Linked DNA regions of Homo sapiens: all the other regions are linked to region 6. Evidence: promoter capture Hi-C in 16 types of primary human blood cells and fetal thymus (Javierre and others, 2016). All regions are on one chromosome and are shown on one strand. Each heading gives the region's core, a stretch centred on a gene start or on the middle of the fragment in contact. The rest is flanking DNA. Distances are from core to core; before and after follow the strand shown.

Evidence for each region. The method cuts DNA at HindIII sites, captures the fragments that hold promoters and counts their contacts. A CHiCAGO score of 5 or more calls a contact.
Region 1: a contact is called between a fragment that was not itself captured here and the fragment with the promoter of GOT2 in region 6, in 1 of 17 cell types (naive CD8 T cells). The highest score is 5.0, in naive CD8 T cells.
Region 2: a contact is called between a fragment that was not itself captured here and the fragment with the promoter of GOT2 in region 6, in 1 of 17 cell types (naive B cells). The highest score is 5.0, in naive B cells.
Region 3: a fragment that was not itself captured here is called in contact with the fragment with the promoter of GOT2 in region 6 in 1 of 17 cell types (total CD4 T cells); the score reaches 5.1 in total CD4 T cells.
Region 4: a contact is called between a fragment that was not itself captured here and the fragment with the promoter of GOT2 in region 6, in 9 of 17 cell types (total B cells, total CD8 T cells, total CD4 T cells and 6 more). The highest score is 10.8, in total B cells.
Region 5: a fragment that was not itself captured here is called in contact with the fragment with the promoter of GOT2 in region 6 in 1 of 17 cell types (naive CD8 T cells); the score reaches 5.4 in naive CD8 T cells.

Annotation. Positions count from the first base shown.
Region 1 is chr16:58,299,086-58,303,788 of GRCh38, forward strand. No RefSeq gene overlaps it. Among named protein-coding and RNA genes, the nearest start is that of PRSS54, 6.4 kb to the left of the region's middle. The HindIII fragment of the contact is 1,163 bases long and covers 2,427-3,589 here.
Region 2 is chr16:58,351,755-58,356,545 of GRCh38, forward strand. No RefSeq gene overlaps it. Among named protein-coding and RNA genes, the nearest start is that of GINS3, 38 kb to the right of the region's middle. The HindIII fragment of the contact is 2,323 bases long and covers 213-2,535 here.
Region 3 is chr16:58,238,271-58,242,695 of GRCh38, forward strand. LOC105371293 (a long non-coding RNA gene) reads right to left here. Exons shown (of 4, transcript XR_933630.2): 4 at 303-341. Among named protein-coding and RNA genes, the nearest start is that of CFAP263, 9.5 kb to the right of the region's middle. The HindIII fragment of the contact is 4,235 bases long and covers 392-4,425 here.
Region 4 is chr16:58,327,543-58,332,336 of GRCh38, forward strand. No RefSeq gene overlaps it. Among named protein-coding and RNA genes, the nearest start is that of PRSS54, 35 kb to the left of the region's middle. The HindIII fragment of the contact is 151 bases long and covers 1,524-1,674 here.
Region 5 is chr16:58,415,757-58,420,291 of GRCh38, forward strand. No RefSeq gene overlaps it. Among named protein-coding and RNA genes, the nearest start is that of LINC02137, 3.3 kb to the right of the region's middle. RefSeq lists an enhancer at 2,112-2,221. The HindIII fragment of the contact is 4,750 bases long and covers 1-4,309 here.
Region 6 is chr16:58,730,990-58,735,896 of GRCh38, forward strand. It overlaps GOT2 (glutamic-oxaloacetic transaminase 2), which reads right to left and starts at 3,327. Exons shown (of 10, transcript NM_002080.4): 1 at 3,151-3,327. The coding sequence starts at 3,239. RefSeq lists silencers at 2,652-2,741, 2,842-2,931 and enhancers at 3,054-3,672, 3,372-3,451. The HindIII fragment of the contact is 10,522 bases long and covers 1-4,907 here.

The DNA of each region.
Region 1 (4,703 bases), core at 1,758-4,257, 430 kb before region 6:
TTTTCTCTCAGTTCTCTGGAGGTGCTTTTTCTCTGTCTTCTGAGTACCATTGTTTAAGGTCTCCCTGAAATCCAATTGTTTTTCCATTATGGGTGCTCTGTCCTTTTCCTCTGGCCCCTGTTAAGAACTTCTTTCATTTTTGGTGTACTATGGTTTTACTATGATACTTTAAGCATTAATTTATTTTTAGTTTATTATTGTAGGATATATTATGCTTTCTAGCTTTGTGTATTTATATTTTTTCATAAGTTCTGAAACAATCTCAGCCATTATCTTTGCAAATATTGCCTCTTCTTCAGGCTCTCTATTCTTTACTTTTGGGATTTCAAATAGATATATGTTAGACTTTCTCATTCCATCCTTCATATATCTCATCAAAGCCTTCATATTTTAATTTTTTATCACTTTGTGTTGCATTTTGGGTGATTACTGTAGACATATCTTCCAGTTTATTAATTCTCTCTTCATCTTTGTCTAATTTTCTGTTCAACCATCCTCTGGAGGTTTTTAAAAATTCAACATTCAATTTTTTTTATTTCTAGAAGACATGTTTTTAAATCTCCCTGTTTGTTTCTGGTTGCATCTTGTCAGGAGCTCATCTGTGTCATTACATCCATTATTTCTGCAACCATTTCATATATATCTGCTCTATATTTGGTATTCGACAGTTCCAAGATCTGCTATTTGGGGGAGAGGGGGATTCCAAATGTTTTTAGTTTCATCTACTCTCACACAATGTGGCTTGCATTTCCTGTGTGCCTTCCTAATAATTGTGAATTCATTTTTTGTTCCTAATATAGGGCTCTAACTTGGATACACTTTCTTCCAGACAGAAGTTGCTTCTGCCTCTACTGGTCACCAGAGGGCGCCACTAACCAGGGACTGTGGCTTGGCTTCCTACCCTCTCTGCTGGTAAAGTGTTTTAACAGCTGTGCTGCTGCCCCTAAGGCAACCCCTCCTCTCCCAGAGGTTAGCAGCTCATTTTTCTTGGAATCTTCTCCTAAAGTTAGTGGGAGCAAGGATAACTCAAAGGGTGTGTCCTCTGCACTGTTTTGCAGTGAGAGGTCATCTCAGATCACCTAGTCTGCAGTGATGCTCAAAGCTGAAGGGGCTGAGCCTCACAACATAGTACACACTCAAAGCTGGACTAATGGATGCCCAGTCGAGCAAAACATAATTTCCAGGTAGTCATCGTGCTTCCTGTTTGTACTTTTGGATTTTTGGTTTCTATTGTTTGGCTTTATTCACTCAAATTTTTGGCTGCTTGCTTGAACTCATCCTACTCTCAGATTCATATGTCCCAGTGAAAGTGATTCACATTAGAGTCTCAGCCACTCTTTTTCTGAGTTACAGTATTTACACTTCTGTTTTTCATCACTGTTTTTACACTTCACTGAACCTCTTTTAACCTTCCCCTCATTTTTGTGAGTTGGGGCTATAATGCCATGCAGAGCTGATAGTCCCACAGGCCCAGGGTAAACCTGCAACCAACCCTACCAGATTCCCTCATCTCTGGAATTTGAGTCTTGAGCCAAGGGACAAAAAGAGTGTAACAGCTGGAGCTGCCACGCTAGGCCAACAGCAGGTTCTTTGGCTCCACTGCCACATCAGGAGCTCTTCCCTGTCCTGTCCTCCCTGAGAGTTGGAGCTTCTATGTTCTATCTCAAATCCCACCAGCACATTTCTTTTCTGCATGCTAGTCAGAGACAGTTTGTGTTGCTTCTGACCAAAAAAACCCTTACTGATCCACGGGTCTTGTGCTTGGAGTATCTTTCATGCCTAAACATTTTAATTCCAAGTCTGATCAATGACTAGTGCCAGTAAGGTCTTTTCAACAATAAAAAGAGCAGCAGTCATTGGAAAACAATTATTTGTTAGAGTAGACTTGTGTTTCATCATGGTTAATGTTCATAGAGTTTTTATAAAAACACATTGTGGAACATTTTGTATATACAAAAGAATACATTTAATGTATATCAATAACAGCATAAACACAAAAGCAACAACATTCTGAGGTACCTGCAACCCAGTTTATGAATTATGTTAGAACATCACCACGGAGTATATATGAAGCCCCTTGTTGGCCCTTCCCCATCATGTTCCTCTTCCTCTCCAAGGAGAACAGCACAGGTTTCTTTCATTCACCATCATCTAGTAGGATTTACCTCTGGAATGCAAGGATGGTTCATCAACCACAAGTCTATAAATCTGATATACCACATTAACAGAATGAAGCATAGAAATTGTTATCATCTCGATACATGGAGAAAAGCATTTAATAAAATTCAACACCCTTTCATGATTAAAAAAACTCACAACAAATTAAGTATAGAAGGAATATAGCTCAATATAATAAAAGTCATATTATGAGATAATATTATTATCAAGCCCACAACTAATATCATACTCAACAGTGAAAAGCTGAAAGCTTTTCCTCTAGGATCAGGAACAAGACAAGGATGCCCACTTTTACCGTTTCAATTAAATATATTAATAGTACTGGAGGTCCTAGCCAGAACAACTAGGCAAGAAAAAGAAATAAAAAGCATCCAGATCAGAAAGAAAGAAGTAAAGTTGTCTTTGTTGGCAGATGACATGACTTTATATATATAGAAAACCCTAAATATTCTACCAAAAAAATGTTAGGTTTGAGCCTCAGGAAAGGAGAAAACAAAAAAAACCTGTTAGGACTAATAAACAAATTCAGTAGAGTGGCAGGATACAAAATCAACATACAAAAACCAGTAGCATTTCTGTCCACTAAGAATAAACTATCTAAAAAAGAAATCAAGAAAACAATCCCATGTATAATAGCATAAAAATTACTTAGGAATAAATTTAACTAAGGAGGTGAATGATCTGTATGCTAAAAACTATAAAATGTTGCTGAAAAAAATGAAGAAGACACAAATGAATGGAAAGATACCCCATATTCATGGATTGAAAGAATTAATATTGTTAAAAGTTCCACGTAATCTATAGATCAAATGCAATCCCTATCAAAATTCCAATGACATTTTTCTTTTCTTTTTTTTTAAATATATAAACAAAAGAGGTTTAATTGACTCACAGTTCTGCATGGCTGGGGATGCCTCAGGAAACTTACAATCATGGTGGAGGGCCAAGGGGAAGCAAGGCATGTCTTACATGGCATCAGGAGAGAGCTCCAGTGACATTTTTCATACAAATGGAAAAAAAATCCTAAAATTGGTATGGAACCACAGAAGACCCTGAATAGCCAAAGCAATCTTAAGCAAAAAGAACAAAGCTGGAGACGTCATACTATCTGACTTCAAAATATATGTATGGTACCATAAAATAGACATATAGACCAATAGAATAGAATAGAGCACCCAGAAATAAATTTGTACATTTATGGTCAATTTATCTTCAGCGAAGATGGCAAGAACATGCAATAGGAAAAGAATAGTCTTTTCAATAAATGGTCTTGGGAAAATTGGATGTCTACATGTAGAAGAATAAAATTAGGCCATTATCTCATGCCACATAAAAATAAATTCAAAATGGATTAGAGACTTAAACTTAAGACCTGAAACTATAAAACTATTAGACAAAAACATAGAGGAAAAGCTTCTTGACATTGGCCTGGGTGATGATTTTTTGGATTTGACTTGAAAACACAGGCAACAAAAGCCAAAATAGACAAATGAGATTGCATCAAACTAAAAAGTGTTTTTGTTTATTTGTTTGTTTGTTTGTTTTTCACAAGAAAGAAAACAAAACAGGGCCAGGCACGGTGGCTCACACCTGTAATCCCAGCACTTTGGTAGGCCGAGGTGGGCGGATCACCTGAGGTTGGGAGTTTGAGACCAGCCTGACCAACATGGAGAAACCCTGTCTCTACTAAAAATACAAAATTAGCCGGGCGTGGTGGCGCATGCCTGTAATCCCAGCTACTCGGGAGGCTGAGGCAGGCGAATAGCTTGAACCTGGGAGGCAGAGGTTGCGGTGAGCCGAGATCGCACCATTGCACTCCAGCCTGAGCAACAAGAGCGAAGACTCCATCTCAAAAAAAAAAAAAAAAAAAAGATAAAATACCAACAGAGTAAAGAGACAACTATGAAATGGGAAAAAATATTTTCAAACCATACATTCTGATAAGAGGTTAATATCCAAAATACATAAGAAACTCAAACAACTCAATAACAAGAAAATAAATCACCCAATTAAAAAATTGACAAAGAACCTGAAATAGGTATTTCTCAAAAGAAGACACACAAATGGCCCACAGGTATATGGAAAAAATGTTCAACATCACTAATCATCAGAGAAATGCAAATCAAAACTATAAATCATCTCACACCTGTTATTATCAAAAAGACAAAAACTAACAAGTGTTGGCAAGGATGTGGAAAAAAAGGAAATCTTGTACACTATTGGTGGGAATATAAAACCCATTATGGGAAGGAATATGGAAGTTCCTCAAAATATTAAAAATAGAACTACCCTATGATCTAGTAATCCCACTTCTGGGTGTGTATACAAATGAAATCACTGTGTCAATGAGATATCTGCACTCCTGTGTTCATTGCAGCATTATTCACAATAGCCAAGATATGAAAGCAACCTAAGTGTTCATCAATGGATAAATGGATTTAAAAAAACCCGTAGTACATATACACACAATAGAATGCTATTCAGCCTTAAGAAAGAAGAAAATTCATTTTCTTTCTTTTTTTTAA
Region 2 (4,791 bases), core at 124-2,623, 380 kb before region 6:
CTGAGTTCACAGCCCAGCTCCACCACCTTGCAGGCCATTTCACGCCTGGGCACCTCCAAGTGCCTGAGAAAATTTTAACCCAGGTGGCAAAGTAGAGCCCCTGTGTTAGGCAGGCTTTGGAGGACCGAAGACGATTTATTGGGGTTTAATGGGAAGGCTTATCATGAAGCCTTATGAAGCTTAACATAAAGGCTTATCATGAAGCCTTATGAAGCTTATCAGGTGATTTATTAGGGGTTTATCATGAAGGCATCTGCAACAGAAAGATCAGATACACCCAGCCAGGTCCTGCCTACCAGACTGCACAGAAACGGCCACAGCTGGGCCTGATGGAGACCCATGTAGTAGTAAGAGTGAAGCCTGGCTCTGAGAACAGAATATTTTGCCTCCCTCTTCCCTCCCCCTGCCCTTGTTTGGGTCAGTCCCCACCACTTTCCCATCCAACCTCCTTCTCCACTCTGCACCTTTCTCTACCTCATTGCTTCTGTTTATTCATGGCAATCTGTGCCTGATGGGCTCCTGCCATGCATCTTTCTATCTTCTGCTTTTGCCACTAACCCTGTCTCCCCTTGTATTTTTGAGTTAAAATTCTCTGCAGAGAATCTAATATGCCCAGCTAATCACCATCAACCCTGATTGGGTGGAACGGTTTCAGTGGGGCCTTTCACAGCCTGCTGATTCTTCAGGGGTGGGATGATCTGGCGTCAGCTCTCATCCCTGGTTGGGGCATCAGTGGTCCAGGAGTGGAGTTTCATGGCGTGGAAAGTGACTGATCCCTCTGCACAGGACTAGGGCAGAGCTGTTTTCGAGGAGAGGAGCACCGAGATTATGACAGGTACCATCTTGACCTAGTTCAATGCCCACCTGTACAGTAGGCATTCAGCATGTGTTTCCTCTTATCTTTTTTATTTTATTTCATTTTATTTTGTTTATTTTTGAGATGCAGTTTTGCACCTGTTGCCCAGGCTGGAGTACGGTGGCAGGGTCTCAGTTCACTGCAACCTCCACCCCCAGGTTCAAGCAATTCTCCTGCCTTAGCCTTCTGAGTAGCTAGGATTACAAATTTCCTTGTCCTAATAGGCCTGGGAGCGCTACCGGAGACCGGGGCTTATTTCATCCCTTATCTTCAACCGTAAAAGACGGACAGTCCCAGAGTGGCCATTTCAGAGACCTACCCCCTGGGAACGCATTGTCTTTCTCAGGGCTGTTCCTTGCTGAGAAAAAGAATTCAGTGATATTTCTCCTATTTGCTTTTGAAAGAAGAGAAATATGGCTCCATTCTGCGTGGCTCTCAGGAAGCCAGACCTAATGGTTATCTTCCTTTTTCCCTGAACACTGCTGTTATCCTGTTCTTTTCTCAAGGTGCCCAGATTTCATATTGTTTAAACAATTTGTGCAGTTAACGCAATCATCACAGGGTCCTGAGGCGACATACATCCTCAGCTTATGAAGATGACAGGATTAAGAGATTAAAGTAAAGACAGGCAGAGGAAATGACAAGAGTATTGATTGGGGAAGTGATAAATGTCCATGAAATCTTCACAATTTATGTTCAGAGACTGCAGTAAAGACAGGCATAAGAAATTATAAAAGTATTAATTTGGGGAACTAATAAATGTTCATGAAATCTTCACAATTTACATTCTTCTGCCATACTTCAGCCAGTCCCTCCGTTCAGGGTCCCTGACTTCCCACAACAGTAACCATCATTCTACTCTCTGCCTCCATGAGATGAATTTTTTAGCACCCACATATGAGTGAGAACACGCAATATCTGTCTTTCTGTGCCTGGCTTATTTCACTTAGCATAACAACCTCCAGTTTCATCCATGCTGCTGCAAATGGCTGAACAGTATTCTTGTGTGTGTGTGTGTGTGTGTGTGTGTGTGTGTGTGTGCATGTATGTATCACATTTTGTCTATCCATTCATCCACTGATGAACTCTGAGGTTGATTCCATATCTTGGCTATTGTCAATAGTGCTGCAATAAACATGAGGGTGCAGGTATCCCTTTGATATACTGATTTCCTTTCCTTTGGGTAAATGCCCAGTAGTGGGATTGCTGGATTTTATGGTAGTTCGATTTTTTGTTTCTTAAGAAGTTTTCATAGTGTCTTCTGTAATGGCTGTACTAATTTACATTCCTATGAACAGTGTATAAGAGTTCCCTTTCCTCTGCATTCTCACCAGCATTTGCTATTTTTCGTCTTCTTGATAATAGCCATTCTAACTGGGGTGAGCTGTTATCTCATCGTGGTTTTGATTTGCATTTCTCTGATTATTAGTGATGTGGAGCATTTTTGCATAGATATGTTGGCCATTCATATGTCTTCTTTTGAGAAATGTCTATTTGAAATGTCTTTGTCCAGTTTTTAATGGGATTATTTTGTTTTGTTTTTGTTTTTATTGTTGATTGTTTGAGTTCCTTCTATATTCTGGATATTAGTTCCTTGTTGGATGAATATTTTGCAAACATTTTCTCCCATTCTACAGGTTGTCTCTTCACTCTGTTGATTGTTTTCTTTGCTGTGCAGAAGCTTTTTAGTTTAATATAGTCCTATTTGTCTATTTTTGATTTTGTTGCCTGTCCTTTTGAAGTCTTTGCCGTAAAACCTTTGTCTAGGCTCTAGACCAATGTTCTAATGCATTTTCTGTATGTTTTCTTCTTGTGGTTTTATAGTTTTGAGTCTTATGTTTAAGTTTTTAATCCCTTCTTAGTTGATTTTTATATCTAGTGAGAGACAGGGATCTAGTTTCATTCTTGTGCATATAGATATCCAGTTTTCCCAGCATTCCCCATGTATTAAAGAGACTGTGCTTTCCCCAGTGTATGTTCTTGACACCTTTGTTGAAAATCAGTTGTCTGTAAATAGGTGGGTTTATTTCTGGGTATTCTATTGTGTTCCTTTGGGCTATGTGTCTGCTTTTATTCCAATATTAGGCTGTTTTGTTTACTATAGCTTTGTGCTATATTTTGAAGTCAGGTAGTGTGATGCCTCCAGCTTTGTTCTTTTTACTCAGGATTGCTTTGAATATTCAAGGTCAAGTTCTTTTGTGGTTCCAGAAAAATTTACAATTTTCTTTCTATATCTGTGAAGAATGTTATTGGTATTTTATAGGGATTGCATTGAATCTATAGATTGCTTTGTGTAGTATAGTTATTTTAATAATATAAATTCTTCTTATTCATGGGCATGTGATGTCTTTCCATTTGTTTGTGTTCTCTTCAATTTCTTTCATCAGTGTTTTGTAGTTGTCATTGTAGGGGTCTTTCACCTCCTTGGTTAAATTTATTCCTAGGTATTTTATTTACTTTTCTGTAGCTATTGTAGATGGGGGATAGCTTCTCAATTTCTTTTTCAGCTAGTTCATTATTGGTGTTAAGAAATGCTGCTGATTTTTTTTTTTTTTTTTGAGACGGAATCTCACTCTGTCGCCCAGTCTGGAGTGCAATGGTACAATCTTGGCTCACTGCAACCTCCACCTCCTGGGTTCAAGCAATTCTTCCGCCTCAGCCTCTTGAGTAGCTGGGATTATAGGCACCCACCATCATGCCTGGCTAATTTTTGTATTTTTGTAGAGACAGAGTTTCATCATGTTGGCCAGGCTGGTCTTGAACTCCTGACCTCAGGTGATCCACCCGCCTTGGCCTCCCAAAGTGCTGGGATTACAGGCATGAGCCACCATGCGCAGCCAGAAATGCTACTGATTGTTATAAGTTGATTTTGTATCCTGCAACTTTACTAAATTTGTTTATCAATTCTGAGTTTTTTGATGGGTTTTTCTATATATAAGAGTACTTTCTGCAAAGAAGGACATTTTGACTTCCTTTTTTCCAAATGGATGCACTTCATTCTTTCTCTTGCCTGATTGCTCTGGCAAGGACTTCCAGTGCCATGTTGAATAATATGGTGGAACTGGGCATCCTTGTCTTGTTCCAGTTCATAGAGAAAGGCTGTCAGCTTTTCTCCTTTCAGTAGGATGTTAGGTACGGGTTTATCATATGTGGCCTTCATTATGTTGAAGTATGTTTCTTTTATGCCTAATTTGTTAAGAGTTTTCATCATGAGGGGATGTTGAATTTTATCAAATGCATTCTCTGCATCTAGTGAGATGATCATATGGTTTTTGTCCTTCGTTCTGTTGACATGGTATATCATATTTATTGATTGGCACATGTTAAACCATTCTTGCATCCCTGAATAAATATGACTTGATCACTATACTATCTTTTTGATGTGCTGTTGGACTCAGTTTGCTAGTATTTCGTTGAGGATTTTTGCATCTGTATTCATCAGAGATAGTGGCTTGTAGTTTTCTTATTTTGTTGTGTCCGTACCTGGTTTTGGTATCAGGGTAATGCTGGCCTTATAGAATGAGTCAGGAATAATTTCCTCCCATTCAATTTTTAAAAATTGTTTGAAAAGTATTAGTATTAGTTCTCTATAAGTTTGGTAGTATTCAGCAGTAGAGCAATCTTGTCCTGTGCTTTGCTTTGTTTAGGAGACTTTTCATTATTGATTCGATCTCATTTCTCATTATTGGTCTGTTCAGGTTTTCTACTTCTTCCTTATTCAATCTTGGTAAGTTGTATGTGTCCAGGAATTTATCCACTTCCTCCCAAAACAATTTGCTTTTCCAATTTGTTAGCATATAGTTGTTCATAATAGTCTCTAATGATCTTTCTTATTTCTGTGGTAATCCGTTGCAATGTCTCCTTTTTCATTCCTGATTTTGTTTCTTTGGGCCTTCTCTCTTATTTTTCTTGGTTAGTCTAGCTAGCAGTTTATC
Region 3 (4,425 bases), core at 1,259-3,758, 490 kb before region 6:
CAAGTATATAAATATTGTACAGTGTACAACTTGAGAAAGTTTTTTTTTTTTTTCTTTTTTTTTTTTTTCAGCTGGAGTCTCACTCTGTCACCAGGCTGGAGTGCAGCGTTATGATCTTGGCTTACTGCAACCTTTGCCTCCCTGGTTCAAGTGATTCTCCTGCCTTAGCCTCCCAAGTAGCTGGGACTACAGGCGCACGCCACCACGCCCAGCTAAGTTTTGTATTTTTAGTAGAGACAGGGCTTCACCATGTTGGCGAGGACGGTCTAGATCTCTTGACCTCGTGATCTGCCTGCCTTGGTCTCCCGAAGTGCTGGGGTTACAGGTGTGAGCTACCGCGTCTGGATGATAAGTTTTGATATATGTTTATACCCATGAAATCGCTCCCAAAAGCTTCCTTGTGCCCCTGTGTGATCCCCTCCACCATATTCCCACTTCCCTGCCCCCTCCATATCCCAAGCAGCCATTAATCTGCTCTTCATCATTGTAAATTAGTTTACACTTTCTAGCATTTTATACAAATAGAATCATACAGCATGTACTCTTTCTAAAATCTGACTTCTTTCACTCAAACTATTTTGAGATTTATGCATGTTGTTGCCTGCGTCCATGGTTCATTCCTTTCCTTTTTTTTTGGATGATGTATAGCGTTCTATGGCTCATATATATGTGTGGATTTGTTTCTGGACTCTATTTTATTCCATTGATCCATTGTTGATTTGTCACCAATGGCATGCTGTCTCAATTACTGTAGCATTATAACAAGTCTTACAGTCAGGTAATGTAAGTCATTCAACTTTGTTCTTCCTCTTCCTTTGTTCTTTCTTCTAAAGTTGTTTTTTCTTTGTTCTTTGAATTTCCGTGTGGCTGTTAGAATCAGCTTATCAATTCACAAAAATAAAGTCTGATGGGATTTTAATTACAGTTGCATTGACTCTACAGATTAATTACAGGATAACTGATAGCTTAATATTTAGCGCTGTGATCCATGAAGGTGGTCTCTCTCTCTCTCTCTCTCTCTCTCTCTCTCTGCAGTACAGGCATTTTAGTATTTTAAATTTGTGTCTAAATACTGCTTTGGATGCATACTATTGATTTTAATATATGGTGTTTAATTTTTATTCAATTTAAAGTACTTTCTAATTTCCTTATTGATTTTTTTAACCTATTTGTGATTTAAGAGTGTGTTATCTTGTTTCTAAATATTAGAGGTTTTTCCAAATGTCTTTCTGTTTCATTTCTAATTTAATTCTATTGTGGTGAGAGAACATAACTTTGTATGGCAAATACTTTTAAATGTATTGAAATTTATTGTTTAACGAATATGGTCTTCTTAGTAATGTTCTGTGTGCACTTGGAAAGAATGTGAGTTCTGCTGTTGTTGGGTGGAGTGTTTCAGAAATGTCCGTTAGGACACTTCAGTTAATAAAGCTGCTCAAATCTTCTATTTCCTTACTTATTTTTATGTCCATTTAGCCTATCAATTTTTGAGAGATTGGTGTTGATATCTTTGAAGTCTTTAATTGTGAATTCGTCTGTCTGTTTCTTCTTGCAGTTCTATTGGTTTTTGCTTCATGGATTTTGAAGCTGTCTTATTGGATGCATAAATATCATGTCTTTATGAATTCATCCCTTTATTATTATAAACTGACCCTGTTTATTACAGGTAATATCCTTTGCTCTGAAATCTACTATGTCTGATATTAACATAATTACTTCACCTTTCTTTGGTGTTTGTATTATTGTTTGACTAGTGTTTGCATCTTTTTCCCTTTTACTTTTAACCCACTTGTGTCTTTATATTTAAAGTGTATTTTTTATAGGCAGCATGTATTTAGGTTTTGCTTTTTTATTCAATCAGATAACCTTTGCCTTTTAATCAGAATGTTTAGACCAATTCCCTTTGGTGTAATTATTGATATGGTTGGATTTTAATCTACCATCTTGATATTTTCTACTTATTCTTTTTTAAAAACAGCTTTATTGATATATAATTCACATACTTAACAATTCACCCACTTAAAGAGTAAATTCAGTGACTGTTACTATATTCAAAAGTTGTGCATCTATCACCCCAGTCAATTGTAGAACGTTTTTCTTACCCCAGAAGAAACTCCACATGCCTTATTCATCACTTATCCCTCATTTTCCCTATCCCGGCCATAAACAACCACTAATCTATTTCTTGTCTCCATGTATCTGCTTATTTTTGACATTTCATATACATAAAATCATACAATATGTGGTCCTTTGTGATTTTCTTTCTTTTTACTTATCGTAATGTTTTCATGCTTTGTCCTTGTTGTATGTATCCATACTTCATTCGTTTTTTATTGCCAAATAATATTACATTTTATAGATACAACATTTGTTCATCTGCTCATCAGTTGATAGGCATTTGTGTCTTTTTGGTTAGTTTAAATAATACCACTGTGCACATTCATGTACAAGTTCATGCATGGATATGTGTTTTAATTTCTTTTGAGTATATACTAGGAGTAGAATTGGTGGATCACATGGTAACTCTATGTTTAGCCTTTTAGTAACAACCAAACTTTGTTTTCTGAAGGAGCTGCACCATTTTCCATTCCCACCAGCAGTTTATGGGGGTTCCAATTTCTCCACATTCTTACTGATACTTGTTTTTATCTGTCTTTTTAATTATATATTATATGTTCTATTATATATTATGCTTCCATGATGACTAATGATGTTGGGCATCTTTTCATGTGCTTATTGATCACTTGTATATCTTTTTTGGATAAATGTCCATTCAAATCATTTGCTTATTTATTTATTACTTTTTTGAGACGGAGTTTCGCTCTTGTTGCCAGGCTGGAATGCAATGGCGTGATCTCGGCTCACTGCAACTTCCGCCTCCCGGGTTCAAGTGATGTCCGCCACCACACCTGGCTAAATTTTGTGTTTTTAGTAGAGACAGGGTTTCACCATGTTGGCTAGGCTGGTTTTGAACTCCTGACCTCAAGTGATCTGCCCGCCTCAGCCTCCCAAAGTGCTGGGATTACCGGCATGAGCCACTGAGCCTGGCCTATTTGCTTATCTTTTAATTATTGAGTTGTAATAATAGTTCTTTATGTATCCTGGATATAAATCTCTCATCATATATATGATTTGCAATTTTTCTCTCATTCTGTGGATTGTCTTTTCACTTTCTTGATGGTGTTCTATGAAGCACAAAAGTTTTTAATAAGTCCAACTTATCTATTTTTTCTTTATTGCCTTGCTTCTATTTGTTCTTTTTGTTTATATTTCCCTTTTTCTGCCTTCTTTTGGATCCATTCGAATATTTTATAATTCCACTTTATCTCCTTTGTTGACTTAGCTGTATTAGTTTCATAGGCTATTGTGATATATTGCCACAAACTTTGTGGCTTAAAACAACACAAATTTATTCTCTTATAGTTCCAGAGGCCAGAAGTCCAAAATGGGTCTCACTCAGCAGGGCTGTATTTTCTCTAGAGGCTTAAGGGGAGAATTCTCCAGTTTTTAGAGCTTCATTCCTTGCATTCCTTGGCTCCTAGGCCCTCTCCTCCATCTTCAAAGTCCACAGCATAGCATCTTCAAGTCTCTCTCTGCTGAGGTTGTCACATTGCTTTCTCTCTTCTGTAGTAGAATCTCCTTCTGCCTCCCTCTTGTAAGGACACTTGTGATTGCTTTTAGGGCCCACTTACATAATCCAGGATAACCACTCCATTTTAAGACCTTTAACTTAATCGCTAAAATTGTTAAGACCTTTTCCCCCTTTACAAGGTAATATTCATAGGTTCCAATGATTAGAACCTGGATATCTTTGCGGGCCATTGTTCTGTCTACCACATTGTCTAGACATTCAGTCTAGAGTTAAAGCTACTCTTTTAGTTTTATGTCTTTGCTGTGTCATTTTTGTCATTGCTTTGGGGTTTATGGTACATTTCTTTAACTTAGTACAGTCTATCTTCAAGTGTTATTATACCACTTTATGTATAGTATAAGAACTTTATACCATCACACTCCCATTTCTCCTCTACTATCATTGTCATACATTTCACTTATAAACTCTACAATGTAAATGTTTTTTTTTTCTTTCTTTCTTTCTTTTGAGATGGAGTTTTTTGCTCTTGTCACCCTGGCTGGAATGCAATGGCCCGATCTGGGCTCACTGCAACCTCTGCCTCCTGGGTTCAAGCAATTCTCCTGCCTCAGACTCCCAAGTAGCTGAGATTACAGGTATGTGCCACCACGCCCGGCTAATTTCATATTTTTTTTAGTAGAGACAAGGTTTCACCATGTTGGTCAGGCTGATCTCAAACTCCTGACCTCAAGTGATCCACTGGCCTCTGCCTCCCAAAGTGCTGGGATTACAGGCATGAGCCACCGTGCTTAGCTACAATGTAAATGTTGTAAACTCTACAATACATAATTTTT
Region 4 (4,794 bases), core at 349-2,848, 410 kb before region 6:
AAAAAGCAGATATACTGAGATATAATTCACATCCCACCATACAATTTACCCACTTAAGGTGCAAAAATGTTTTTTACCATATTCACAGGTTGGTGCATCCATCACTATAACCAGTTTTAGAACATTTTTGTTTTATTTTTATTTTTATTTTTTTGAGACGGAGTTTCACTCTTGTTGCCTGGGCTGGAGTGCAGCGGCACGATCTCAGCTCACCACAACCTCTGCCTCCCCGGGTTCAAGTGATTCTCCTGCCTCAGCCTCCCGAGTAGCTGGGATTACAGGCATGCGCCACCACGCCTGGCTAATTTTGTATTTTTGATAGAGACGGGGTTTCTCGATGTTGGTCAGGCTGGTCTCAAACTCCTGACCTGAGGTGATCCGCCCATCTCAGCTTCCTGAAGTGCTGGGATTACAGGCGTGAGCCACCATGCCTGGCCAGAACATTTTTATTACCACTGAAAAAACTCCATCCCTTGGCCAGGTGGTGGCACACGCCTTTAATCCCAGCACTTTGGGAGGCTGAAGTGGGAGGATCACCTGAGGTAAGGAGTTTGAGACCAGCCTGGCCAATATGATGAAATCCCATCTCTACTAAAAAATACAAAAATTAGCTGGACATGCTGATGCATGCCTGTAGTCCCGGCTACTTGGGAGGCTGAGGTGGGAGGATCGCTTGAGCCCAGGAGGTGGAGGTTGCAGTCAGCCGAGATGGCACCACTGCACTCTAGCCTGGGCGACAGCAAGAGACTCTGTCTCAAAAAAAAAAAAAAGAAAAGAAAAAGAAAAAGAAAAGAAAAGAAAAGAAAAAATCCCATCTTCATTAACAGCCATTCCCCATTTCTCCCCATCCCCACCCCGCCGGCAACCACTAATCTGCTTTCTGCATCTGTGGATTTGCCTATTCTGGAAATTTTATATAAATGGAATCCTGTGGAGAGAGAGAATGGAGAATGACTGCTTAATGGGGTACAGAAATGATGAAAAAGTTCTGGAGCTAGATAGTGGGGATGGTTGCAAAACATTGAGAATGTATTTAACATGCCTAAGTCGTACACTTTAAAATGGTTAACCAGTCTGGGCAACATGGTGAAACCCTGTCTCTACAAAAAATACAAATAAATAAATAAATAATAGCCAGGCATGGTGGTCCCAGCTACTTGGGAGGCTGAGGTGAGAGGATTGCTTGAGTCCACGAGGTTGAAGCTGCAGTGAGCTGAGACTGCTCTACTGCACTCCAGGCTGGGTAATAGAATGAGACTCTGTCTCAAAAAAAAATTATTAAAAAAATCTATAATACAGTGGTCGATTTTATGTTATGGTCGATTTTATGTAATGTGTTTTTTACCATAATAATTTTTAAAATCCAGACTAAGGAAGGCTAGTATTTGTGAAGTCATTAGACAGAACCATATCTAATTTAAGAATTAGTCATGAATATTGAAGTGGATTACTTTTTGTCACATTGTACTAAGAGAAACAACAAACATTGCCAACAAAATATCACCCAAAACAACAAATATTTAAGCTTATTTAACCAAAACATGGAGGTTAGGCATTTTGTTTCTTCAAAAGCAAGGTATAATAGTTTTAACAAATCAAACATATGGAGCTAAAAAAGATGTTTTAGCTATAAATATAAAATTTTAATAGATTGTTACCTAAGTGACTATGTAAAGCTTGGAATGTCACATTATGATGCTGGCTTCACCTTGCTCTGTTTATTTACAGACTAGGAAAGAGAGAAAGATAAGCCTCCAGGTTTATCGAGCTCCTAAAAATTTCTCACTTTGGCAGCCTTAAACTATTGTGCAAGAGCAAGTGGGGTCAGGCTGTGTGACTCATGCCTATAATCCCAAGAAGCTACCAGCTTTCAGGTCCCAAATATAATAAGACTCAAAGAAATGGCATCAAATTCTAGAGCAAAATCAAGCATCTACCATGGTTGTGCTGAATATCCTTCTGTTTCCACATAAGGGAACATTAGAGTCATGGCTTGCGACTTTAAAAATAAAAGTAACCAGGCGTAGTGGCACACACCTGTAGTCCCAGCTACTCTGGAGGCTGAGGTGGGAAGCTTGCTTGAGCCCAGGAGATCAAGGCTGCAGTGAACATGATTGTGCCACTGCACTGTAGCCTGAGTGACAGAGCAAGACCCAGTCTCTATTTTTTAAAAAACCATTTAAGAAAACTGCAACCAAGCATTAATGCAGTGGTTTGTGAACTTGGAGGCACGTTAGAATCATCTAAGGGCTTTTAGAATCTTCCATGTCCTGGTCACACCCAAGACCAATTTTTTAAAAAAATTTTTATTTTATTTTAGGTTCCGGGATACATGTGCAGAACATGCAGGTTTGTTACATAGGTAAACATGTGCCATGGTGGTTTGCTGTACCTATCAACCCATTATGTAAGTATTAAGCCCAGCATGCATTAGCTATTAGTCCTGACGCTTTCCCTCCCCTGCCTCATCGACAGGCCCCAGTGTGTGTTGTTCCCCTCCCTGTGTCCATGTATTCTCATTGTTCATCTCCCACTTATGAGTGAGAATATAGAGGTGTTTGGTTTTCTGTTCCTGTGTTAGTTTGCTGAGGATGATGGCTTCCAGCTTTATCTATGTCACTGCAAAGAACATGATCTCATTGCTTTTTATGGCTACATAGTATTCCATGCTGTATATGTACCACATTTTCTTTATCCAGTCTATCATTGATGGGCATTTGGGTTGGTTCCAAGTCTTTGCTATTGTGAATAGGGCTGCAATAAACATACATGTGCATGTATCTTTATAATATAATGATTTATATTCCTTTGGGTATATACCCAAATATATACCCCGTAATGGGATTGCTGGGTCAAATATTTCTGGTTCTAGATCCTTGAGGAATTGCCACACTGCCATCCACAGTTGTTGAATTAATTTACATTCCCACCAACAGGGTAAAAGCGTTCCTATTTCTCTGCAGTTTCGCCAGCATCTGTTGTTTCTTGACTTTTTAATAATTGCCTTTCTGACTACACCAGACCAATTGACTCAGACATTGGGTGTGAGACCCAGGCATCAGTATGGCTTTAAAGCCCCCCAGGTGAGTCCAATGTGCAGAGGCTGGCTGTCATGGCAAGAGATGCTTGACAATTAAGAAATTGGGAACACCTGGCCGGAGGCAGTGGCTCACGCCTGTAATCCCAGCACTTTGGGAGGCCGAGGCGGGCAGATCACCTGAGGTCGGGAGTTCAAGGCCAGCCTGACCAACATGGAGAAACCCTATCTCTACTAAAAATACAAAATTAGCCAGGCGTCATGGCACATGCCTGTAATCCCAGCTACTCGGGAAGCAGAGGCAGGAGAATCCCTTGAACCTGGGAGGTGGAGGTTGTGGTGAGCTGAGATCATGCCATTGCACTCCAGCCTGGGCAACAAGAGTGAAACTCTGTTTCAAAAAAAAAAAAAAGAAAAGAAATTGGGAACACCTTCTATCTGCCAGCGGTAAAGCTACTCAATTTTGCAGAAATAAACATGTAAGAGAAATCAAAGTCCTGCTCCCAAAAGAACGTTTCAGAAGTTGTTTTGAAAGCTCTGGGCAAGCTACATGGATGAAAGAAATGCTACAAGGGACTTGTGAACCTCGCTTCCATTCAATCACTCATTCATTCATTCATTCATTTATTCATTCACCGATTCACTCGCAAAGTCATTTATCACTGTTATTTATTCCTTCACTCAGTCAGTCATTCACGCAACATTTCTTAGGCTCCCCTCTGTGCCAAGTCCTGGAGAAACTGAAATAGAAGGAAGGATGGTGCCCCCCCTGAGAAAGCTTGTGATCTGGGATGACGGTGAGGGGTAACAGATGGTGGCAATTGAGTTCAGGGTGCTCAGGAAGAAGCCTGTCCTGGGTGTGATGAAGTGTGGGGGGAAGGGGTGTGTCACCCCGCTGAGTGGTGAGGCGGTGGAGGAGGGGGCTCCCTTGAAAACAACTTTCTAGGGAGAGGACACCTGAATAAGACCTGAGAAAGGAGCAGGTGTGAGCCCATCTGCAACAAATCCCCTGTGAGTGTGGCTCTCAGCCTGGCTGCCCCTGGGAGATTCCTTCCTGTCTGGCTCCACCCCCAGAGACTCAGGTTTCACGGGGCTACAGTGGGGCTCGGGCATTCGCATGCTTTTAAAATATCATGATTTTTTTAAATTGAAGTGAAATTCACATAGCATAAAATTTTTAAATTGAAGTGAAATTCACATAGCATAAAATTTTTAAATTGAAGTGAAATTCACATAGCATAAAATTCACCATTTTAAAGTGGACAATGCAGTGGCATTCAGCACATTCACACAACCACCCCCTCTACTTGGTTTCAAAACATTTTTATCATCCCCAAAATAAGACCCTGTGTACCCATTAAACAACCACTGCCCATTCCACCTTCCCCCAATCCCTGGTGACCACAAATCTGCTTTCTCTCGTTATGGATTTATTTATTTATTTTATTTTATTTATTTGTTTATTTATTTATTTATTTTTGAGACAGAGTCTTACTCTGTCTCCCAAGCTGGAGTGCAGTGGTGCGATCTCGGCTCACTGCAGGCTCCGCCTCCTGGGTTCACGCCATTCTCCTGCCTCAGCCTCCCGAGTAGCTGGGATTACAGGCATCCAACACCACGCCCGGCTAATTTTTTGTATTTTTAGTAGAGATGGGGTTTCACCGTGTTAGCCAGGATGGTCTTGATCTCCTGACCTCGTGATCCACCCGCCTTGGCCTCCCAAAGTACTAGGATTACAGGCGTGAGCCACCGCGCCT
Region 5 (4,535 bases), core at 685-3,184, 320 kb before region 6:
AGTACTAATGAGTTGCACATTTTAAAATATATTCATTGGCCATTTATGCTTCCTCTTTTGTGAAATGCCTGTTTACATGTTTTGCCCATTGTTCTACTGGATTGTTTATCTTCTTTTTACTGATTTATAGGTGATCTTTTTTTTTTTTGGAGACAGAGTCTTGCTCTGTCACCCAGGCTGGAGTGCAGTGGCGCCATCTCAGCTCACTGCAACCTATGCCTTCAGGGTTCTAGCGATTCTCCTGCCTCAGCCTCCTGAGTAGCTGGGATTACAGGTGCCTGCCACAACGCCCAGCTAATTTTTGTATTTTTAGTAGAGACAGGATTTCACTATGTTGGCCAGGCTGGTCACAAACTCCTGACCTCAGGTGATCCACCCACCTCGGCCTGCCAAAGTGCTGGGGTTACAGGCATGAACCACCGCGCCTGGCCAGTATAGGTGTTCTTTATACTAATCCTTTGTCAGTTATCTGTGTTGCAAAATTCTCCCATTCTGTAGCTTGTCTTTTAATTTTCTTTGTAGTATCTTTTTTTATTTTTCCTTAGAAACAAGGTCTCCCTGTGTCACCCAGGCTGGAGTGCAGTTGTGGGATCATAGCTCATTGCAGCCTTGAACTCCTAGGCTCAAGCAGTCCTCCCACCTCAGCCTCCCGACTAGCTGGGACTATAGGTACATGCCACCACACCTGACTTCTTTTACTTATTTAGAGACAGAATCTTGCTGTATTTCCCAGGCTAGTCTTGAACTCCTTGCCTCAAGTGATCCTCCTGCCTCAGCCTCCTGAATCACTGGGATTACAGGCATGCAACACCACACCTGGCTAAATTTTTTTTCTTTTTTTTTCTGTATTTTTTTTATTATTATATTTTAAGTTCTAGGGTACATGTGCATAACGTGCAGGTTTGTTATATATGTATACATGTGCCATGTTGGTGTGCTGCACCCATTAACTCGTCATTTACATTAGGAATATCTCCTAATGCTTTCCCTCCCCCCTCCCCCCACCCAACAACAGGCCCTGGTTTTAAAATATATTCATTGGCCATTTATGCTTCCTCTTTTGTGAAATGCCTGTTTACGTGTTTTACCCATTGTTCTACTGGATTGTTTATCTTTTTACTGATTTACAGGTGTTCTTTTTTTTTTTTTTTTTTTTTTTTTTGTGGAGACAGAGTCTCACTCTGTCACCCAGACTGGAGTGCAGTGGCGCCATCTCAGCTCACTGCAACCTACACCTTCCAGGTTCTAGCCATTCTCCTGCCTCAGCCTCCTGAGTAGCTGGGATTACAGGTGCCTGCCACAATGCCCAGCTAATTTTATATGTATTATCTCATTTAATTTCCACAAAAACCCTAAGAGATGAATTATTGTTATCCCCCTTTTACAGATAAAGAAATAGACTCAGTGAGGTTAAGTGTGTGCCGAAGGTCACACAGCAACCAGTGCTGGGCCCAGGGCTGGAAACCAGGTCAGGCTGATCCTGAGATCCGACTCTTCTCTGCTCTGCTGCACTGTGCGATGAGCAACAGAGCAGGCCAGGGCAGCCTCTTCCCACCGCACTATCAGGTGTCTCTCGCTTCAGTCCTGGTCCTCCCAACACCGTTTCTATAGGACTTGCCATCCCCTCTTCCCACCGCACTATCAGGCGTCTCTCGCTTCAGTCCCGGTCCTCCCAACACCGTTTCTATAGGACTCGCCATCCCCTCTTCCAACCGCACTATCAGGCGTCTCTCGCTTCAGTCCTGGTCCTCCCAACGCCATTTCTATAGGACTCGCTATCCCTTCTAAGTGTCTCCTTTGGCAAAATTGGCCCAACCTATGCCTATGTCATATCACCATTATCTGCAGTAAAAACAGGACTCCTCCTTCTGTTTCAAAAGACTGCTCATGTCATTGACAACCCGTGCTCATTCTCGAGATTGCAAGCTGCTATTTTTGAAAAGTTATTTTGCATGACATTTTGCCTCAGGGGCCCTTGGTCTGTTTAATCTGGGTATCTCAGTTGGCAGAACACTGTGTGGCTCTCCGGATTGATTACATGTGTCTAATCTGCAGCTCTGGCTGTTGCAAAAACTCCCTTGCCTCCTTCTCTCTGCCTCACCCCCAACTGCCTTGCTCAAAACAGGTGATGGGTGGCTCATGGTTGGTCCGGAGGAAGGGGGAATCCGAGAAAGCAGAGGCTACACAGTTCAAACAGTCCCCTGCAGGGCAGGCTTGGCTGTTTTCTGGCTTCTTCTGCTGGGAATTTCACTGACAGCAGAAATTAATCCCACTTATTCACTCATTCATTCGCCCCTCCAGTGAGGGTCTGAAGTCAGGAGTGGAATGGTCATCCCTCACTGCCCTGTGGAGTTTACACTGTAAAGGGCAAGGCGGACTATAAACGGGATTACAATAAGATCTGTGAGGTGAATTAAAGGGCATGTGTAAATAAAGACAGAGTCTCGCTCTGTCACTCAGGCTTGAGTGCAGTGGCACAACCCTAGCTCACTGCAGCTTTGAACTCCTGGGCTCAAGCGATCTCCACGCCTCAACCTCCCAAGTAGCTAGTACTACAAGTGTGTGCCACCACATCTGGCTAATTTTTCTTGTTCTTAATTTTTATAGAGACGGAGTTCTCACTATGTTGCCCAGGCTGGTCTAGAACTCCTGGCTTCAAGCAATCATCCCACCTCAGCCTCCCAAAGATTGGGATTACAGGTGTGAGCCACTTTGCCCGGCTTTCAGGGACCTTCTTTAGTGAGTCCAAAGAGGGGCTCTCTGAGGAAAGATGCAGAGCTGGCTGGGTGAAGAGCCCAGAGGAGGTCATCATTCCAAGCAGTGAGAGGAGGTGAGAAGTGTGTGGCTTGGTTGGCCTGCTTTAAGAAACAAAAGCAGGCCTGGGTGGCAGAGGTGTGGATGAGAGTGACAGGAGATGAGGGAGTGGGGAGGAGGCAGAGAGCAGATCTTTTGAGGCATGAATATGATAGAGCTGGCCGTAGGGGTGGAGCTGACAGTCAGGGAGTGGGAGGACATTATTAGATCATCACAAGTGTGAGCCCAGGACGGGCCATACACATTGCCTTGAGAGCCTTTGGCAGGGCCACCTTCCAAGTCAGGCTGTGTGTGACTGGAGGGCCTCCGGGGAAGGTAACTTTTAAGCAAAAGTCCATAACAGGAACTGGCTGCAGTGACTCATGCCTGTAATCCCCCTGCACTTTGGGAGGCCAAGATGGATCACTTGAGGTCAGGAATTCGAGACCAGCCTTGCCAACATGGCAAACCCCGTCTCCACTAAAAATACAAAAAATAGCCAGGCATGGTGGTGTGGCCTGTAGTCCCAGCTACTCAGAAGGCTGAGGCAGGAGACTCACTTAAACCCGGGAGGTGGAGTTTGCAGCGAGCCCAGATCATGCCACTGCACTCCAGCCTGGGTGACAGACCAAGACTCCGTCTCAAAAAAAATAAATAAATAAACCCACCACAGTGGTTCTCAAAGGTGTGGTCCCCAGGCCAGCTGCATCAGCACCACCTGTGAATTTGCTAGAACTACAGATTCCAGCGCCCACCCCAGACCTACTGAGTCCTCCAGAGCACAGAGCACGGAGCCTAACACGTGCTGAATTCATGGCCTCCGAATTGCAAGCTGTCAAGTTCCAGAGTGTGCTGACGTGTTAAGATGCACAGAGTCGTGTCATGGGGACACACCCTAGCCAGCAGGTTGTGCCCACCCCGGCGTGGAATGAGGACAGAGCCCAGCTTGGGTGGGTTTAGCTGATTTTAAGGTGCCAGGGTAGAAACAGAAATGCGTCTGCACAGCTGTGCTGGGTGAAATTTCACACTTGGCAAGGTGTGAACAGAATTAACATTTGCTGGAACAGGTTGGAAGCCTTTAGACTGTGAGTTACAAAATCAGGCAAAGAAAGAAAAAAAAAGGAAGGGGGAAAATTAGGTGATCTTCAACCTCATTAACTCAAGCCCAGCTGCAGAGGATGTTACCAAATTATCCACTAAGAAAACCCACCTGGGGCTGAGAATAAGCCTGAGACTTCAGGCCCCAGGGGTCCTTTTGAAAAGAAAGTTCTCCGCCTGAGAACAGTTGCTCTCACGAAAGCGCCTCCTCCACAGCCCCTGCAGAGCATCAGGCCTCGACACTTTAATTGCTCCGATAGAAACAAGCTAATGGGGTTTTAATAAAAATAGAACCCAAATAGGCGTTGATCCCCTATTTTTTGCAACCAGAGGCACTGCCACAGTTTCAGTGCCATCGGTGCTAGCTAGGGGGGTCTCCATGCCATGAGACCCTGGTGAGAATTAAATAAGGAAAACAAGCTTATGGATTCGATATTTTGAGAGCTTCAACAAAAACCAGAACTCTGTCAACAACAGCCTGGTTTATCCTAGGTCCAGGGAAAAACAGGTCAAGACACATGCCCCAAATCACTAAAGGCAATAAAAGCTTGGTAGGGGTAGGGGTGCCCGCGGTCCTGCTCCCCAGCACTGGAGTGAGCAGGACACTGGCTGCCCCTCAAGATAATTTGAATCTTCAAAAAGTA
Region 6 (4,907 bases), core at 2,077-4,576:
AATTTCCCTGGAGCTTAAGCCTACTTAAAGTTTTACAGTTTTTAAACTGCTTTTCCTCACATTCTTCTTACTTTAAAATCAGAAGGGAAGTTAATTAGCTTGCCCACAATCACAGAGCTAAAAATGGCAGAGACAATAGCACAGCTGTGATCTTTTTTTTTTGAGACACAGTCTTGCTTTGTTGCTCAGGCTGGAGTGCAGCGGCGTGATCAGCGGGCTCACTGCAACTCTTCACCTCTCAAGCGATCAGGCTCGAGCGACCCTCCCACCTCAGCCTCCCAAGTAGCTGGGACTCCAGGTGCACATCACCATGCCCGGCTAATTTTTGTATTTTATGTAGAGACGGGGTCTTGCCATGTTGCCCAGCTGGTCTAGAACTCCCGAGCTCAAGCAATCCACCTGCCTCAGCCTCCCAAAGTGCTAGAATTACAGGTGTGAGCTACTGTGCCTGGTCTGTGATCTTTTAACCAATGGTTATGGTACCACAGTTGCACACTGCATTTTTAAAGTCTCACGAGACCTGCTCAGTTATTTCACCAAAAAGTAAATAATCAGAATTAAATAATTAAAAGCAAATCATTATAAATCAAAATACATTAGCATCTTTTTTTTTCTTCATTGAACTGCAACTATGTCTGATCTCATGTCACTATACATTTACAGTACAAGTCAACAAGAGAAAGTTTTATTCGCAGTGTTTAGCTAAATGATACACTTGAACTTACAAAGAGTTCCACATATTTACAAAGAGTTCCAAGTATGCCATTGGATAAATCCTCAGTTCTTCAGAATAACAACAGACAAGGTTTTATTGTATTAGAATGAGCCATTTAAATAGAAATGTCGATGAATTCAGTTTAAGTATTTTCCACTTTTACCATTTGGAGCTAGGTAAAGATCACTTCCACAGTGTAAGGAGGGAAGTCTGATCTTGCCTGAAGAGTTAACCTTCATGCCAAATATGGCATCTGATTCTGTCACCTAATCAGGTATCATTATTTAAATCTGAAGAGTAATTCCTCAACATTAGGTGCTCAACTATTTCAAGAATTTATTTTCTGGTCAGGTGGGGTTGCTTAGCCTATAATCCCAGCGCTTTGCGGGGCTGATGTGGGAGGAGTCTGAGACCAACACAGGGAGACTCTGTCTCTACAAAAAATAAAAAATTAGCTGGGTGTGGTGGTGTATGCCTGCAGTCCCAGCTACTTGGGAGGCTGAAGCAGGAGGACCACTTGAGCCTGGAAGGTCAGGCTGCAGTGAGCCATGATTGTGCCACTGCACTCCAGCCTGGGCAACACAGTGAGACCCTGTATTTAAAGAAAAAAAAAAAGGGAATTTTTTTTGGTACATATTTTGCAGCACTGTGGTTCCCCTGTGTAAGATTAGTCGAGAGAAGGAACAATAAAATCTGTAACTGGTTATGATCAATTAGTTGTAAACACCATTACACTTGGACCAGCCTATGTTCAGATTTTGATCTAAGATACAACATTAAAATGTCATACTGTATTTGTTTCCGTTGCATTACGTGAAAAATCAGGGCTTAAAATAAAAATATCCAATATAAGAGACATGCCAGCAACTGTTAATAGTGCTGAGATGTAACAGTGAATATAAAGTAGGTAAAGTCTCCGCTCTCATGGAACTTACATTCTAGTAAGAAAAATACAGAAAAGAAAAATGAGTCAGACTCTCAAACTGAAAGAATGACTAACCCTGACCCCAAGGGATTTTCACCAAGCACTAGAGCTTCAGGTGATCTAGCCAAATCCATAAAACAAGGTATTATTTTAAGATTACTGCAATAGGGAAACATACTTTCTCTTGACGGAAATTTTAAGCACTCCTTTGGTTTTCCAAATTTGTTGCATAAATAACTCCTCCTGGCTCTGGCCCACTAGGTAGGCAGACTTAAAGAGCACACGTTGACAGTGGGCCAGGAAGGAGCCAAGTCAGGAAGAGAAAAAAGTGCGAAGCCTGGGCAAAACTGTACTGCCAAGGCTGTGGGGCCTTGGAAAGGACAGATAGTTCTGCTGGCTGAAAGACACAGAGCATACATTCAAACGAAAGGCCAAGCTACGCTTTGCTCCTTGCAGTTAATACCTGCTTGGGGGTGGTTTTAAAACTCAGTTCCTTATTAAGGTAGTGCTTAAGGAGAGTGCTCCAAATCGGCTTCTTGAGTTGAATTAATCTTCTGGCTCCGGTCTCCACTGGGAATGAATTACTAGAGCTCGTTTCAAGCTCTGAAATTTCCCTCCATACTATTATACACGCCACAGTACGAAATTACGTTTGTCATTTTTTGAGCAATGACCATTTGTCATTGTCCTTCCCTCGCCTTGTTCACAGTTGTATCGTTGGCATCTGGTCCAGAGCCTGGCTCTGAGAAACTGCAGTTACGAAATATTTACTGAATGAAAGAGCACAGGGAGATGGAGAGGAAGATTGATAGCCTCCCTGCAACCGGACCTCCTTAGGGGCAATAAGGAAAAAACAAAACAAAACAAAAAAAGAGACACACTACACCTCGACCCTTTCCCAAGCAAAGGCCAAACGGGCCCCGGGGTCACAGGGACCTCGGGGGGTCGCAAGGTCAGGAGAATGCCGCACGCCAAGGTCGCAGGTGCGGGAAGGAAAGCGAGGCCCGAATGCCGGCGCCCCGGAAACCTTCCTCTCGCGCTCTTCCCGCCCAGGGCACACACGCGGCAGCCAGCCGCCGCCGGCCCACCGACTCGGGCGGGCCGGGGGCCAGGACAGGTGCGCCCGCCGCCCCCAGGGCACCCTATCAAGGGCACGGTCGTTACCCGGCGCCGCTGCCCCAGTACTATCCGCACCCCTCCCACTGAATGGGAGTCCGGCAACCGCCGAGGGCCACACTTCCTTTCCCTAGGGATTGCGTTGCACGCCTTCCTGCAGGGCCCAGTGCGGGGACCAGAGGGATGTGGGATCCTGAGGATCACTGTGGGGCACGGACGCTCAATCCTCAGTCCCCAGTAAGGGAAAGCCGAGGGGGTGGCAGAAAAGTGTGTGTGTGTGCGTGTGAGTGACAGTGTGTATTTGGGGGCCGGGAGGGGTGAATGTCCTGGGGTGCTCGCAGCTCGGCGGGGCAGGGCCATCGCCCTGGCTCCATCTCCGTTTCCCTTGGCTTACCTGGCTCTGGCAGAGGCCGCGGCGGCGAGGCCCGGGTGGAAGGCGGCGGCGATCCCGGGGAGGACGCGGCCGGAGTGCAGCAGGGCCATGGTGGACCGTAGGAGGGCAGTGGGCAGCCGCAGGACGGAGCAGAGGGCGAGCGGACACACACACAGGGAACCGGCTCCTGCTGAAGGTAAGGACAGGGACTTCCCTGGGCCAGAGCGGCCGCGTGCTGGGCCCGAGCCACGTCACAGCGATCCCTGGCGGCCGGCGGGCGGAGCGGCGTGGGCTCAGCGGAGGTCGTGGAAGAGGATGACTGCACAGTTTACCTACGCCCAGCCCTTGCTGCGCTTCATTCATTTAATCCAGCTGGGCCAGGCCTGGCCGGCCGAAGAGGTGGCTGCTGTTATGGCAGTTTGAAAGATGAGAAAATGTAGGCTGACATAGTTGACGTATTTTGTCTGATGCCTTACAGCCATTAGGACCCAAGGTGGCCTTACTTTCAACCCTAATAGTTTCCCTAAGCACAAGTCATGTCACGTCGTTCCTGAATGTTTCCTTATCCCCCACCCTTTTTTTTTTTTTTTTTTTTTTGAGATGGAGTTTCACTCTGTCACCCAGGCTGGAGTGCAGTGGCGTGATTTCGGCTCACTACAACCTCTGCCTCCCAGGTTCAAGCGATTCTCCTGCCTCAGCTCCCCGAGTAGCTGGGTTACAGGTGCCACCACCACGCCCGGCTAATTTTTGTATTTTTAGTAGAGACGGGGGTTTCACCATGTTGACCAGTCTGGTCTCAAACTCCTGATCTCAAGTGATCTGCCCGTCTCAGTCTCCCAAGACTGCTAGGATTACAGGCATGAGCCACCGCACCTGGCTTCCTTATCCCTTTTATGGAGAGGGTCGCATGTGTATTTTGTGGGGCAGTTGTGAGGATTAATAAGATTAGCAGATTATGTCTAAAACAGGGCCTGATTTAGTAAGCACAAAATAACCCATGGTCATTAATGACAAACTCGTGTATGTCAAATCCTGATAACTGTTTGTGGAAGGAAATGAATCGGTTTTGAAGGAAATGAATCGGTTTTAAAGGAAAAAGCAAATGAATTTCAGACACATCCACAAGTCAAACGAGTCTTTCTCATGTGTAGTCTATTTCTCTGATACTCGTCTCTTAAACCAAGGTAGGGGCCCGGTGTGTTGGCTTATGCCTGTAAACCCAACACTTTGGTAGACTGAGGCAGGAGGATAGCATGAAAACAAGAGTCTGAGACCAGCCTGGGTAACAAGATGAAACCCCCATCTCTTAAAAAAATAAAAAAAAATTAGCAGGATGTGGTGTTGCGTGCCTGTTCCAGCTACTCAGAAGGCTGAGGAGGGAGGATTGCTTGAGCCCATTAATTCAAGAGTGCAGGCCGGGCGCGGTGGCTCACGCCTGTAATCCCAGCACTTTGGGAGGCCGAGGCAGGCGGATCACGAGGTCAGGAGATCGAGTCCATCCTGGCTAACCCTCTCTCTACTAAAAAAATACAAAAAAAAAGTAGCCGGGCATAGTGGCGGGCGCCTGTAGTCCCAGCTACTCGGGAGGCTGAGGCAGGAGAATGGCATGAACCCGGGAGGCGGAGCTTGCAGTGAGCCAAGATCGCGCCACTGCACTCCAGCCTGGGCAACAGAGCCAGACTCCGACTCAAAAAAAAAAAAAAAAAAAGAGTGCAGTGAGCCAGGATTGCGCTACTGCACTCCAGCCTGGGTAACAGAGTGAGACGCTGGCTCTAAAT